3 separate regions of the Homo sapiens genome follow, and all the other regions are linked to region 3. The links are contacts of gene promoters, found by promoter capture Hi-C in blood cells and fetal thymus (Javierre and others, 2016). All regions are on one chromosome and are shown on one strand. Each heading gives the region's core, a stretch centred on a gene start or on the middle of the fragment in contact. The rest is flanking DNA. Distances are from core to core; before and after follow the strand shown. Region 1 holds the start of COMMD8 (COMM domain containing 8). Region 2 holds the start of RELL1 (RELT like 1). Region 3 holds the start of ATP8A1 (ATPase phospholipid transporting 8A1).

Region 1 (3,757 bases), core at 521-3,020, 4.8 Mb after region 3:
CAGAGAGGAAGCAAGGAAAAGTCCATCTTAAAAGGATGAGTAGTTGGCCAAGCAAAACAGGAGAGAAGAAGTGCATTTCTAGACACAAGCAAGTTATTTTGGGGGGTGCCTAGGGGGTGACAGGAGACAAGGCTGGAGAGGTGGGTGGAGCCAAATCAAAAAGGGCCTTGTGTACAAAGTAAAAGAGCCTAGACTTCAATCTGTGCTCAACCGGGAAGCAACCTATTCACACATTTGCATTATTTTTCCATATATTTGCTAACAGGTTGGAAGATGTAAGAGAGAGGGTGAGCCCAGATGCCTCAATTTTCAGTTAAGGAGTTAAAGATTAAGGGGCTTAAATTGTTGAGGACACTCAAAATGGAGGCAGTAAAGAGGTAGAAGAGATGTGAAAAGGGGGGGCCATGGATGAAACCTAGAACGTCAGGTTGAGAGGGGCTGGGTGAAAGTGGTGGTGCCACAAACCGAAAATGAGGCTACGGGAGGAGTAGGTCCAGGGGGAAAGAAGAGCTGAGGCAAGGGCATACTGAATTTGAGGTACCTGTGGCAGAAGCCTGACACTCAGGGAAGAGATTTTGGTTTGGGGTTTTTGGGGTTTTGTTTTGTTTTTTACCTGGCATTCTTGAACCATAGAGGAAGAAATTTTTGGCTGGACCTAAAGATTTAGAAGTCATCGACATATATGGTAATAAAGGTTATGGGCCTTATCTAAATGGGTAGAGTGAAGACAAGGAGAGCCAAAAGCCAATAAAACACTCAGAATCAACAGATCTGAGCATAAGTTCCAGCTCTGCCACTAACTGGATGGGCAATCCTGGGCAAGTTAGCCAAAATTTCTGCTGACATTTCAGGTTCCTCACTTGCAAAAACAAAGAAAAGAATTAGGTGTTTTTTTTTCTTGACCCTGGCAGGAGGTAAGTTCATTCCTTTCTGTCTCCTCCACACTTTCTCCAGTATAAATGGAATAGAGGAAACAGGAAGCCAAAATTGAGACTTATAAAAAAGATGCTCCACCAGGGCACAGGCTGTGTCTCACTCACCATTTACCTCATCCCATCGGGGCGCTCAATCTATGGTAGACTTCAATGAAAAACTGGCTGAACAAATGAATGTGGTTGCTTTTTCCAGATTCTTACAAGCCAGGTTCTTTTACAGACTGGAAGTCAATGGGTACATCACCTCTTGGGACGATCCTAACTAAAGTAACTCGCCCAGTTATTTCTCTTCCTACCAACCACCCTCAAGGGGGGAGGCAGGGTCCGCTTCGGTCTTTGTCACATTGTATTCCAGCACCTAGCTCTGTACCTGCTGTCCGGTAGGTAGGGAGCCTTTGGGAGGTTATGTGTTGAATGAATTAAGAAAACGTATACTAAGAGGCAGCAAACACCGACTTAAGCTTTCAAAGCCCAGTCTGGTGTGGGCGCTTCTGCGCGCAAAGCCCCTGGAGCTGCACCTCTAGGCTGGGGGTGGCGCCCCAAGCTGTCCTCCTAGGCTCCCCAGGGAAGGCGGGGACCAACCACCCGAAATCACGCCCCTTCCTCCTCCCTTCCCTAGGGAGCTTGCGAAGGCGTCCGGGTCGCACCCGGCCTGATCCGCACGCCGGGCTGTCGCGAATCCCAGGCCCCGCGCCGCTTCCCCCGGTACCCGCCCTCACCTGCGGGCCCAGCTCGGCCGGCAGCTTCTGCAGCCGCCACAAGGGCGTCCCCTCTTCCGGCTCCATCCCTGCGCGAAGCTGGGGCTTGGGTCACGTGTCAAGGCTGGCCGCTTGTCTAAAGCTACGACTCGCCCACGTGACTCTCGCCGGCGGGGAGGGGCGTGGACCCAAGAAGTCCCTGTGCGCTTGCGCAGAGACCGAACTACCGCTTTCCCCGTAACCAGGGAGACTGCAGTTTGCAGTGATGTGGCTAAGATACCCTTGTGCTATTAAAGGCACATTTACGTATCTTTCAACGCAGTTTGTACCTTTGTTTAGGGTTCTATTGAACTTTCTCTGTGCTCTTTAGAAAACCGTCGAATAAAGGTAACCATCTTTTTGGGTGCCTGGGCATGGTCATTGTCCCAGAGTTTTAACAGAAGTCTCTACTAAAGTATCCTGATTTGCAAGGTAAATTAAGGTTTTGCCATGAGCAACGTTCTGTATATAGATCATCCTAGGGAGAAGGTACTATTTTCAGCCCTATTTGCAGAAAGCAAACATGATTAGAGAAGTCACTAAGGTTGTCAGATTTAGCAAATGAAAATACCAAGCGTCCAGTTAAATGTGAAATTTCAGATAAACAATAATATTTTGTTGTAAGTATCCCCTAAATATTGTATGGGATATATTTATACTGAAAATTATTTGTCCATCTGAAATTCAAATTTAACTGGTGTCCTGTATTTTATCTGGCAACGCTAAAAATCACTGACCTAAGTAAGAGGCCCAGTCTGAAGTTAAACAAAATCAATCAGACTCAAGAGCCATGCTATTAATGTTGGACTAAGCTCAAAGTCCAAATATCCTTTCTGTTATTTCTTATTACAGCTGTTACTTTAATCAGGTGCTGAAGAATTCAGTGGTGGTAAAATGAGCATGTCCTGCAAAAGCGGATAATAATAACTAGTAGACCAGAAACAGGAATTACAATCTAATTTATAAATTTAATAATAAAAGTGGTGCAAAATGGTGAAGCAGAAGAGAAAGTATTCAATCTATGGGCTACGCAGAGAAAAACTACTCATTAGCAGCATTCTAGGTTTACCTCCTACGTCCTTTCTCTGTGTGCCTCAACTCTAAAAGGTGAAGTCAATTTCTTTCTCCCGTGAGTTTTCATGATATTTTAGCTGTCCCTCACTTATTTACCACTTTCTAGTTCTTAATGCAGATAGATGCACAACACTCATTGCCCTATCTTAAATGTAATTGTCTTAAGATACTTTGTGAATAGGAGCTCCCCTAGTAATAGTTAAAATGAGAAGTCTGGAAAACTACTTCACCTGAGTCTTTCTGTAAATCTAATGATGGGTAAGGTCTATTTTGAGAAAAAAACTTAAATTTTATGTATTATAATAATTGGGAGAAAAGTACTTTCAAGCATCTACTATATGTCAAACCCTTCATATATTTTTATCTTACTAATTCCTGCTACAGCCTTGTACAGTGGGTATTACAGATGAGGAAATGAACTTGAAGTAATATATTTTGTAAGGTCACATAGATAGTAGTTACAAAATCACTGGTCTGAGGCCAGAAACGGTGATCTCAGTTTGCATGCTTGACTACCCCTGCTGAGGAACTGAAATGATATGGCTTACCTAAGGCCACGTAACATGACTAAATAAGGTAAAATGACACACCTAACAGGGCCCAAGGTTTAGTCAGAGGACAGAGAATTAGGTCCTAACTCATCTTTCAAGCAACACTGAGTACTAAGAAGAATTTGATCTTTACTCTTGAATTTGGATGGGACAAAATTTAGCCTGCAACAAATATGGTTTCCAAAATAGTTAACAACTTGCAAGAGAGACAGCGCTTAATATTTGCCCTTTGATTAGTAAGAGGATGTTCTTATGTGTGTAATCCAAGAGGTTTTCAAAACATATGTCTGTCTCTTGTAGTTCCATCTCTATGAGGTATATTCTGGTCTCCATCTCCCAAATCTTATTTGTACTATAGCAATCTTTAAATGCATGAACTCTGGAGCTAAACTTCATAAGTTCAAACCCTGGCTCTGCAAATGACTATGTACTCTGGGCAAGCTATTTTCACTTCTCTGTG
Region 2 (3,691 bases), core at 40-2,539, 5.0 Mb before region 3:
CAGCTACCTGGCTAAGAGAGACCCCAGAATTTAATAAAGCTTATCTTTAGTTTCTAAAAAGGAGTCAGAATGCTGGAGGGAAGCCTGCAGCCCAAGGACAATGCATTTTTCATCTCACCAGCCCCAGGACCTCTTCCACCCACTCCTTACTCGAGGGCTATGCCCACTGTCTGAGAGAGAAACTAATAAACCTGAAGGTTGAGTAACCAGAGAACTTAAGGACATTAATAAGCCAAGACGTGGAAAATCATCCCTTTGGGTGCTTGTGGTATATAGTTTCGAATGCTGCTGCTAAGAGACAAGTTTAATGAGATTCTTCTACTAGGAAGGAAGTGAAAAAGGCATTGCCACTACCCACCGTGAAGCTATCTGCCCTTCTTTTCTCTACTTGACAACTTCTGATAACCACATGCTTACAATTTTATGACGTTCTAAACTATCTTAGAATCTCAGCGAGATTGCAGAGGTTGACTCATATTCTATTTTTCCTCTGCAGAGCAGTGGGGTACAGTGGAAAGGGAATGAACTTTGGAATCAAGCAGGCTGGGTTATCCCAGATAAAGATACATATAAAGGTACACACATACACAGACACCTCCTAGTGGTTCTGCTTCTCTGAATGCTGACTGGCACAGTACCTATGTGATGTTCAGCCAGTTGTTTAACCTCTCTTGCCTCAGTTGCCTTACTGGAAGTAAGTATTTCACAGGGTTATGAGCAATGAGTTTAAAAATGCCTATGAAGGCTGGGCGCGGTGGCTCACACCTGTAATCCCTGCACTTTGGGAGGTCGAGAAGGGCGGATCACTTGAGGTCAGGAGTTACAAACCAGCATAGCCAACATGGGGAAGCCCCGATTCTACTAAAAAATACAAAAATTTGCCAGGCATGGTGGCGGGCGCCTATAATCCCAGCTACTAGGGAGGCTGAGGCAGGAGAATTGCTTGAGCCTGGGAGGTGGAGGTTGTAGTGAGCTGAGATCGCACCACTGCACCTCAGCCTGGGAGTCAGAGCAAGACTCTGTCTCAAAAAACAATAAAAATAAAAATAAATAAACAAATAAAAATGCGGCCGGGCGCGGTGGCTCACGCCTGTAATCCCAGCACTTTGGGAGGCCAAGGTGGGCGGATCACGAGGTCAGGAGATGGAGACCATCCTGGCTAACACGGTGAAACCCCGTCTCTACTAAAAATATAAAAAATTAGCCAGGCATGGTGGCGGGCGCCTGTAGTCCCAGCTACTCTGGAGGCTGAGGCAGGAGAATGGCGTGAACCCGGGAGGCGGAGCTTGCAGTGAGATCGCGCCACTGCACTCCAGCCTGGGCGACAGAGCAAGACTCCGTCTCAAAAAGAAAAAAATAAATAAAAATAAAAATGCATACAAAGTACTCAACCCAAAGCCTGGCACACAGCAGGCACTCAACAGTATTTCCCATTCCTTTCCCTCTACTTCCCTATGCTCAAGGTACAAACATTAACACCATCTTTGGTTGCAAGGGGATCAGATGTTGGCTGGTCAGAGCATCTTCTCTTTACACACGCCTCAAGATACTGGCAAATTTGTGCTCTGTATCCTTTCCTTTTTAGACACCTGTTTCTTCTTCCGCATTAATTTTCATCAAAAAAAAAAAAAGGCTGTCATGCAATTAGATGAGAGCTTTCATCAGTCACATTCTAGTCCTGAGACCTGGGTGTTGCTCAGAGGTCAAACCAAACACACACCCACTCTAGGGATGGATTTCTCCTGCTGATGATGGCTAATTACATGCATCATGTGCTGAATTTTTAATAATTTTACTCCCAGATTAAACTCTTCCCCAGATTCTGTTGCAACTGACTCTAACCCTCTAATGAATGTCTCCAACCTCACATCCAAGTGGAACCTGATTATGCACCTATGTGTCCCAGCAATCAAACGCAGGATGAAAATCAAAATGAACCAGCAGGGCATGGTGGCTCATGCCTGTAATACCAGCACTTTGGGAGGCCGAGGCAGGAGGATCACTTGAGGTCGGGAGTTCGAGACCAGCCTGGCCAATATGGCAAAACCCCATCTCTACTAAAAATACAAAAATTAGCCGGGCATGGTGGCACATGCCTGTAATCCCAGCTGCTCAGAAGGCTGAGGCAGGAGAATCACTTGAACCAGAGAGCTGGAGGTTGCAGTGAGCCGAGGTTGTGCCACTGCACTCCAGTCTGGGTGACAAAATGAGCCCCTGTATCAAAATAAGGAAAAGAAAAAAAAAATTGTCCCATCCAGTAAAACATGTCACTAGCTGCCATTTCCCCAGGTGGATGGCTAACGGAAATACGGGCCTGCTAAAAAGACTCAGGAGACAATATTATCCATCTCCTTCCCTTCCAACCTGCTCTGGTTTCTATGAAAAAGTGAAGGCCAAACTGCTAAGTCAGTGTAAAAGTTGTAAGCGACTGAAATGTTCTCAGGAGGAAGAGTTTATGGATGTTTATGGAGGAGACAGTCACTGTTGAAAGGCTTCCAGTTGCTTATTATTTGGGCCTGAGGAGGAACCACCGCTGAAATCAAGCTTGGAAGAGCTTGCTGACGTCAGATTCCCAGCTGTAGTAACCCCAAATGGCCAAGTAAGTATGTTTTTTTTTTAACTGCAGCTGTTAGGTGGCAATTAAGAGGGGAAGCGGTGGTAAGGAATCCCTAGTGTCTGTAATTATAAAAGCAAGGATGTGACATAGGACTTCCATAAAACTTACACCTCCTCTTAAGATTGATTTCAATTAAAAACTGCTTCATCGTTGGTGACACTTTAGCATCTCTGTTGGTGGCTTCCTGCCCTGACCACACAAGGTTCCTTTCGTGACGACAGGAATCAACAAAAAGAAGAAAAAAATGTAAGTTTACCAACGCGCCTTCCCTTTTTCCGAGCCTGATTTATACAGGATATATGGGAAGAAATGTGGACTCCTTGACCTGTTACAAGAATCCATCAACCACCCAAATAAATGGAAACGTGGAAAGAGATTCAAAGTCCTCCAGGTTTTAGGATATTTTAAGGTATTTAAAAGGGAGAAGGAGGCGCCGACAGCGCACCCGGTGCTCTGTGTCACGATCTTCCGCTCGCGGCGCCTTTGAGGACAAGGGCGGCGGGAAACGGGTCCGCGGGGTTCCGAGGCGAGCGGCCGTGGAGGAAGCGCCCCCGAAGAAGGCCTGGTCCCTACGCCCCGCACTGCCCAGCGCTGGGGAACACAGATCCTCGGAGGAGGCCCCAGGGAGGGAAGGCGGGAGCGGGGCCCGCGGGAGGGGAGGGACGGGAGCCGTTGCCACGCACCGCGCCCTGCCCGGACCGCCGCGGGACAGCCAGTTGTTCAGTGCCGGGATCCCGCGGCTGTGCCAGAAAGCAGGACGCCGCGGGGCTGCCGTCCCGACCCCTCGCTTCCTTCCGCGCTCCCGGGACCGGGCTCAGCACCCGGCGCCCCGGCTACGACCGGACACTCACCCGGAGCCACCAGCGGCGAACTCACGGCGCCTCCCACGAAGACAGCAGCGGCTAGGACGGCGGACCCCGGGAGTGCCCGCGGAGCCATCGCCGCGTCGCTTCGCCCTCCTCCCCCAGGGCGCCGCGTCCCGCGCTCGGGAAGGCAGAGCCGCTCCGGAGCCGGCGGGCTGATCGAGTGGCTGGGCTGGGCCCCAGGGAGCGGCGAACCCCGCCCCGCCATTGC
Region 3 (3,734 bases), core at 1,114-3,613:
TGTCTGAGTCACATAAGAATTGGTTGACCCTGGGTCAGGAGCCAACCATAGTCCAATCAGCTGAGGCCAAAAAGGCTGCAGTTCAGAACAAGGCCCTCTAGGCAGCAGGGCCTCTCTCAAAGGAGAATATTCCTTAGGAAAGGTAGGACTATATTTTTTAGGAAAGAAATATTTCCTAGGAAAGAAAAGTGTGGGCAGAGCAGGCAATGAGCCACAACGCCAGCCCCACAGAGTCATTATTTGTCTTCACCACAGTCCCAAGCACATGCTGAAGCTATAATAAACTGGAATCAACTAATCTCAGGGGAAAGGGTCATTCACTCACCAAGCACCACTATGGCCCTGACACTGTGCTGGACGCACAGGGAATACAAAGATTAAACAAGCAGCAGTCCTTGTTTTCCCAGAGCTCTTAATCCAAATGTGTCACTGAACTAGTTACTTGACCTTGGGCAAATTACTAAACCATATGGGCCACAGTTTCCTCAACTATCAGATGGCACTCCACCTTCACCAACCTCCAGGAGTGTTGTAAGTTTCCATAAAGTAATCTTTGTAAAAGTACTTTGGAAAATACACAAGCCAATCAAGAACAATACTGCAGCCCTGTAATCCCCTCACATGCCACAGGTTTTGCAGTGCTCTCAGACTTTTTCTCTTCCCCTTATTTCCCACAATATAGGACCCATCAATTGCTATTATTTAAAAGAACACCACCAACTATTACCATTCTACTTTCACTATCTCTATGACTAATTTCACTCAGAAGTGTAAAAAAAATGAATTTTTACAGTGTGCATTTTAAAAGTATAATGTATTCAACTGTGTATGTAAAACTATAATGCCCTATATAAGTATTTTTTGGGTATTACAAATGACAGCATGTACCGAATTCCTATGTAGTACACAGGCCAGTTTTGAATCTTGCTTCGTCTTCTCCCCACAGCAGTTTCATTTAATATTTCCTAAATACTGCAATCAGAAAATTTCAGGGACCCTATTTTTACAGGGAGCCCCTAAGGAGAAAAAATGGCCTGTCTCCATCCCTGAAATCCAATTCTCCTAACTTATATATTTTTCTAAAACCACTTCACCACCTGTCTCACATTAAAAGATGGAGGTGGGGAGGAAGAGTGGGAATCAGCGATGATGGCAAGATAGATTTCTGAAAAACATGTTATTCCACCCTCTGCAGGATTCAAGTACAGGTTTATGGGAGAGGACAAACAAACCTTGGGATATTTACAGTCTTGGCTTTGACGCGAGCAAAATCAAATAATATTTACAGAGTGCCTGCCACATGGCAGGCAGGATGTTGAGGGCTCCTCGGAGACGATGAAGAGTCTGGGCCCTCGGAAAGCTTACTTGCTTCTACCCCGGAGCATCTGTTGCTCAGTGTTGACAACCATGGCCATTCAAGAGCTGGCCCCAGGTGGAGCAAAGAAAACAGCTTCCACCTGGCTGAAAAGTCAGCTCAGCTGGCCGAAGTGAGGGTTTCGGGCAAAAGGGAAACACAAAAACGAAACCTCAGACGCGAGCCGGTGGGACTCCGCTGCAGGAGGCAGAATTGCAGAAGCTGTAATGCAGGGAACCCACTCGGCACCCGACCCCGATGAAGGCTCCCCGCGCTTCGAGAGCCAAGGGACTACGGATCAAAGGATCCTGCAGCCGGGGAAAAGCAAACTCGCTTCGCTGGGAGCTCAGATAGGGGGTTGCAAAACGGTGGGCGCCGGAGGCAGGGGCGGCGGGCTGGGGATCTGCTGAGTGGAAATCGAACTGGTGGGGAGGGAGGTGGGCAGGGCGAGTGAGCTCAGTGACTGGGACCTAATGGTCACACTGCGGTGCAAAGCACGCCTCGGGGCTCCCGCGGAGAACACCCATTCGAGGGTACTGGAGCCTGGAAAGGGTCTGCGAGTACACTGGGGGCAGCGCGGGGGGAAGGGTCCCCTAGGGGCCGGGCGCGACAGTCGGACTGCCGCCGGGGAAGAGGTAGGATGCGGTCTCTTCCAGGATAAACACACACGCTCACACACACACTCGCTTCCCGACCCCGGGCTAGCCCCGAGCCTCGGCGGCCCCTTACCTTCGGCGCGCGAGCGGATCTCCGACACGGTCCTCCGCATGGTGGGCATCGCGGCGGCGGCTGCAGGTGGGTCCTCAGCCCGGACTCTGCACCTGTCACGGCGTGGTACACGCGGGAGACCCGGCTGCGCCGCGCAGAGCGCTCAGCTGCAGCCTGGGCCGCGCCGCCGCCCACCTAGGGCAGAGCTGCCGCCGGGCGCGGCCCCCGCACGCCGACAGGAGGAGGAGAAAGGCAGCGGTGGCGGCGAAGGTGGCGGCGCCCGCAGAGCTGGGCGAGCTCTTGCTGCAGCCGCGGAGGGGCGGCTCGGCGAGGGGCGGAGCTCGGGCGCCGGCGCCGGGGGAGGGGCCTGCGGGGCTCGCGCTCCCCCTCCCGCGGCCGCTCAGCAAGGAAGGCGGGTGAGGGGCGGGGAGAGCCAGGGGGAGCCTCCTTCGCCCCGCCCCGCCCCGCTTCGGACCGTATCACGACTCAAAGGGGGGATCAACTCTTAGCCTCCTTAGTCCTCCAGCGTTTTCGCTCCGCCCTGTGGAGTTGGTTGACCCGGTTCCTCCTCCAGGCCACTCGGACTCTCTCACATCTTGCTCAGAAAGGAAAGACTGCTCTGGCTGCTGCATTCTCACGAATCCCCTCCCGCTACCCCTGGCTTTTGATCGCAGTGGAGCCGCCCGTCGTCCGGAAAGAGCTGTTGGGTCTGAGCCGGCAGGCGAAGGCGAAAGGGTCTGGGACTACAAGGTTTAGCTCCCAGCCAGAGCAGGAAAGGAACGACTGACTGTTCGCCATCTGGGTGTAATTCTAACCTCTCTGCACGCCCAGCCCGACTCGTGGCCTGAGCCGCACTTGTCCTCCTGCCTCGCCCACTAGCAACAGGCTGCCAGGTCGGGAGGCCCCTGGTGCCCATGGTGCTCTTGTCCATGGGGCTTGGGTGCATCTGGGCCCCGCCTGCAAGTGGGCCCGGTGCATCTCCCTAGTTCAGGCTCTGCAGCCTGACAAGGCACTGAAATAGCAATTAAGCCAACTAAGTATTGGCCCAGGTGGTTCACAAAAGACTTTTTTTTTTTCTTTTAGTTAAATCTGCATAAAGTTGGATGCAGTCGTTTTATCTGCAAAGGGGAGAGGAGTCTTTGTATAAAATCCATAAATATGTTAAATTTTAATTTGCCGATGTCCTTCAGACTATCATAGCCTCATTACCTTTTATTTTGTATACCGAGATCTATGCTAAAAAGTTGTCAAAACAAATACTTCACCTTCAAGTTAAGATGTAAGGTTTTGTGCTGTTTCTGGCGAGCTGCTGAACTGGCAGGAAAGGAATAAACCAGAAACAATAAATCAGAAGCAATTTGCTTCTTCCCTCATTTCATGCTCTTCCTCCAGCAACCAGCGAAAGAGATCCTCACATAGAGGCCTTTTATTTGAGATCTTTTCACATCCTGAAGGGAGAGAGCTGGAGAGGTTTGACCTGAGAGAGAAGTGATTATTTCCAAGCCTCAGGAAAAAATGAAATAAAATCTGCTAATAGCGTCCTATCTCCATTTGTGGTATTTCTTCTGCTTCCTGCAGGTAGCACTTGCTAATCAGAGCCCTGCCCTACATTAATACTCAGGCAGTCAATGCATATTTATGAAGAGCCCACTCTAGTTGGCTCTGATTCAGA

Evidence for each region. The method cuts DNA at HindIII sites, captures the fragments that hold promoters and counts their contacts. A CHiCAGO score of 5 or more calls a contact.
Region 1: a contact is called between the fragment with the promoter of COMMD8 here and the fragment with the promoter of ATP8A1 in region 3, in 2 of 17 cell types (naive CD4 T cells and non-activated CD4 T cells). The highest score is 6.1, in naive CD4 T cells.
Region 2: a contact is called between a fragment that was not itself captured here and the fragment with the promoter of ATP8A1 in region 3, in 1 of 17 cell types (fetal thymus). The highest score is 6.2, in fetal thymus.

What each region holds. Positions count from the first base shown.
Region 1 is chr4:47,461,932-47,465,688 of GRCh38, forward strand. It overlaps COMMD8 (COMM domain containing 8), which reads right to left and starts at 1,771. Exons shown (of 5, transcript NM_017845.5): 1 at 1,655-1,771. The coding sequence starts at 1,720. It overlaps LOC107986277 (a long non-coding RNA gene), which reads left to right and starts at 1,952. Exons shown (of 3, transcript XR_001741683.3): 1 at 1,952-2,020. RefSeq lists a silencer at 1,502-1,761 and an enhancer at 3,410-3,459. The HindIII fragment of the contact is 2,743 bases long and covers 1,395-3,757 here.
Region 2 is chr4:37,682,732-37,686,422 of GRCh38, forward strand. It overlaps RELL1 (RELT like 1), which reads right to left and starts at 3,645. Exons shown (of 7, transcript NM_001085400.2): 1 at 3,469-3,645. The coding sequence starts at 3,556. RefSeq lists an enhancer at 43-92 and a silencer at 3,184-3,691. The HindIII fragment of the contact is 2,505 bases long and covers 38-2,542 here.
Region 3 is chr4:42,654,742-42,658,475 of GRCh38, forward strand. It overlaps ATP8A1 (ATPase phospholipid transporting 8A1), which reads right to left and starts at 2,364. Exons shown (of 37, transcript NM_006095.2): 1 at 2,084-2,364. The coding sequence starts at 2,132. ATP8A1-DT (ATP8A1 divergent transcript) reads left to right here and starts at 2,782. Exons shown (of 1, transcript NR_186688.1): 1 at 2,782-3,606. RefSeq lists enhancers at 1,551-1,600, 2,591-2,800 and a silencer at 2,091-2,560. The HindIII fragment of the contact is 6,451 bases long and covers 1,359-3,734 here.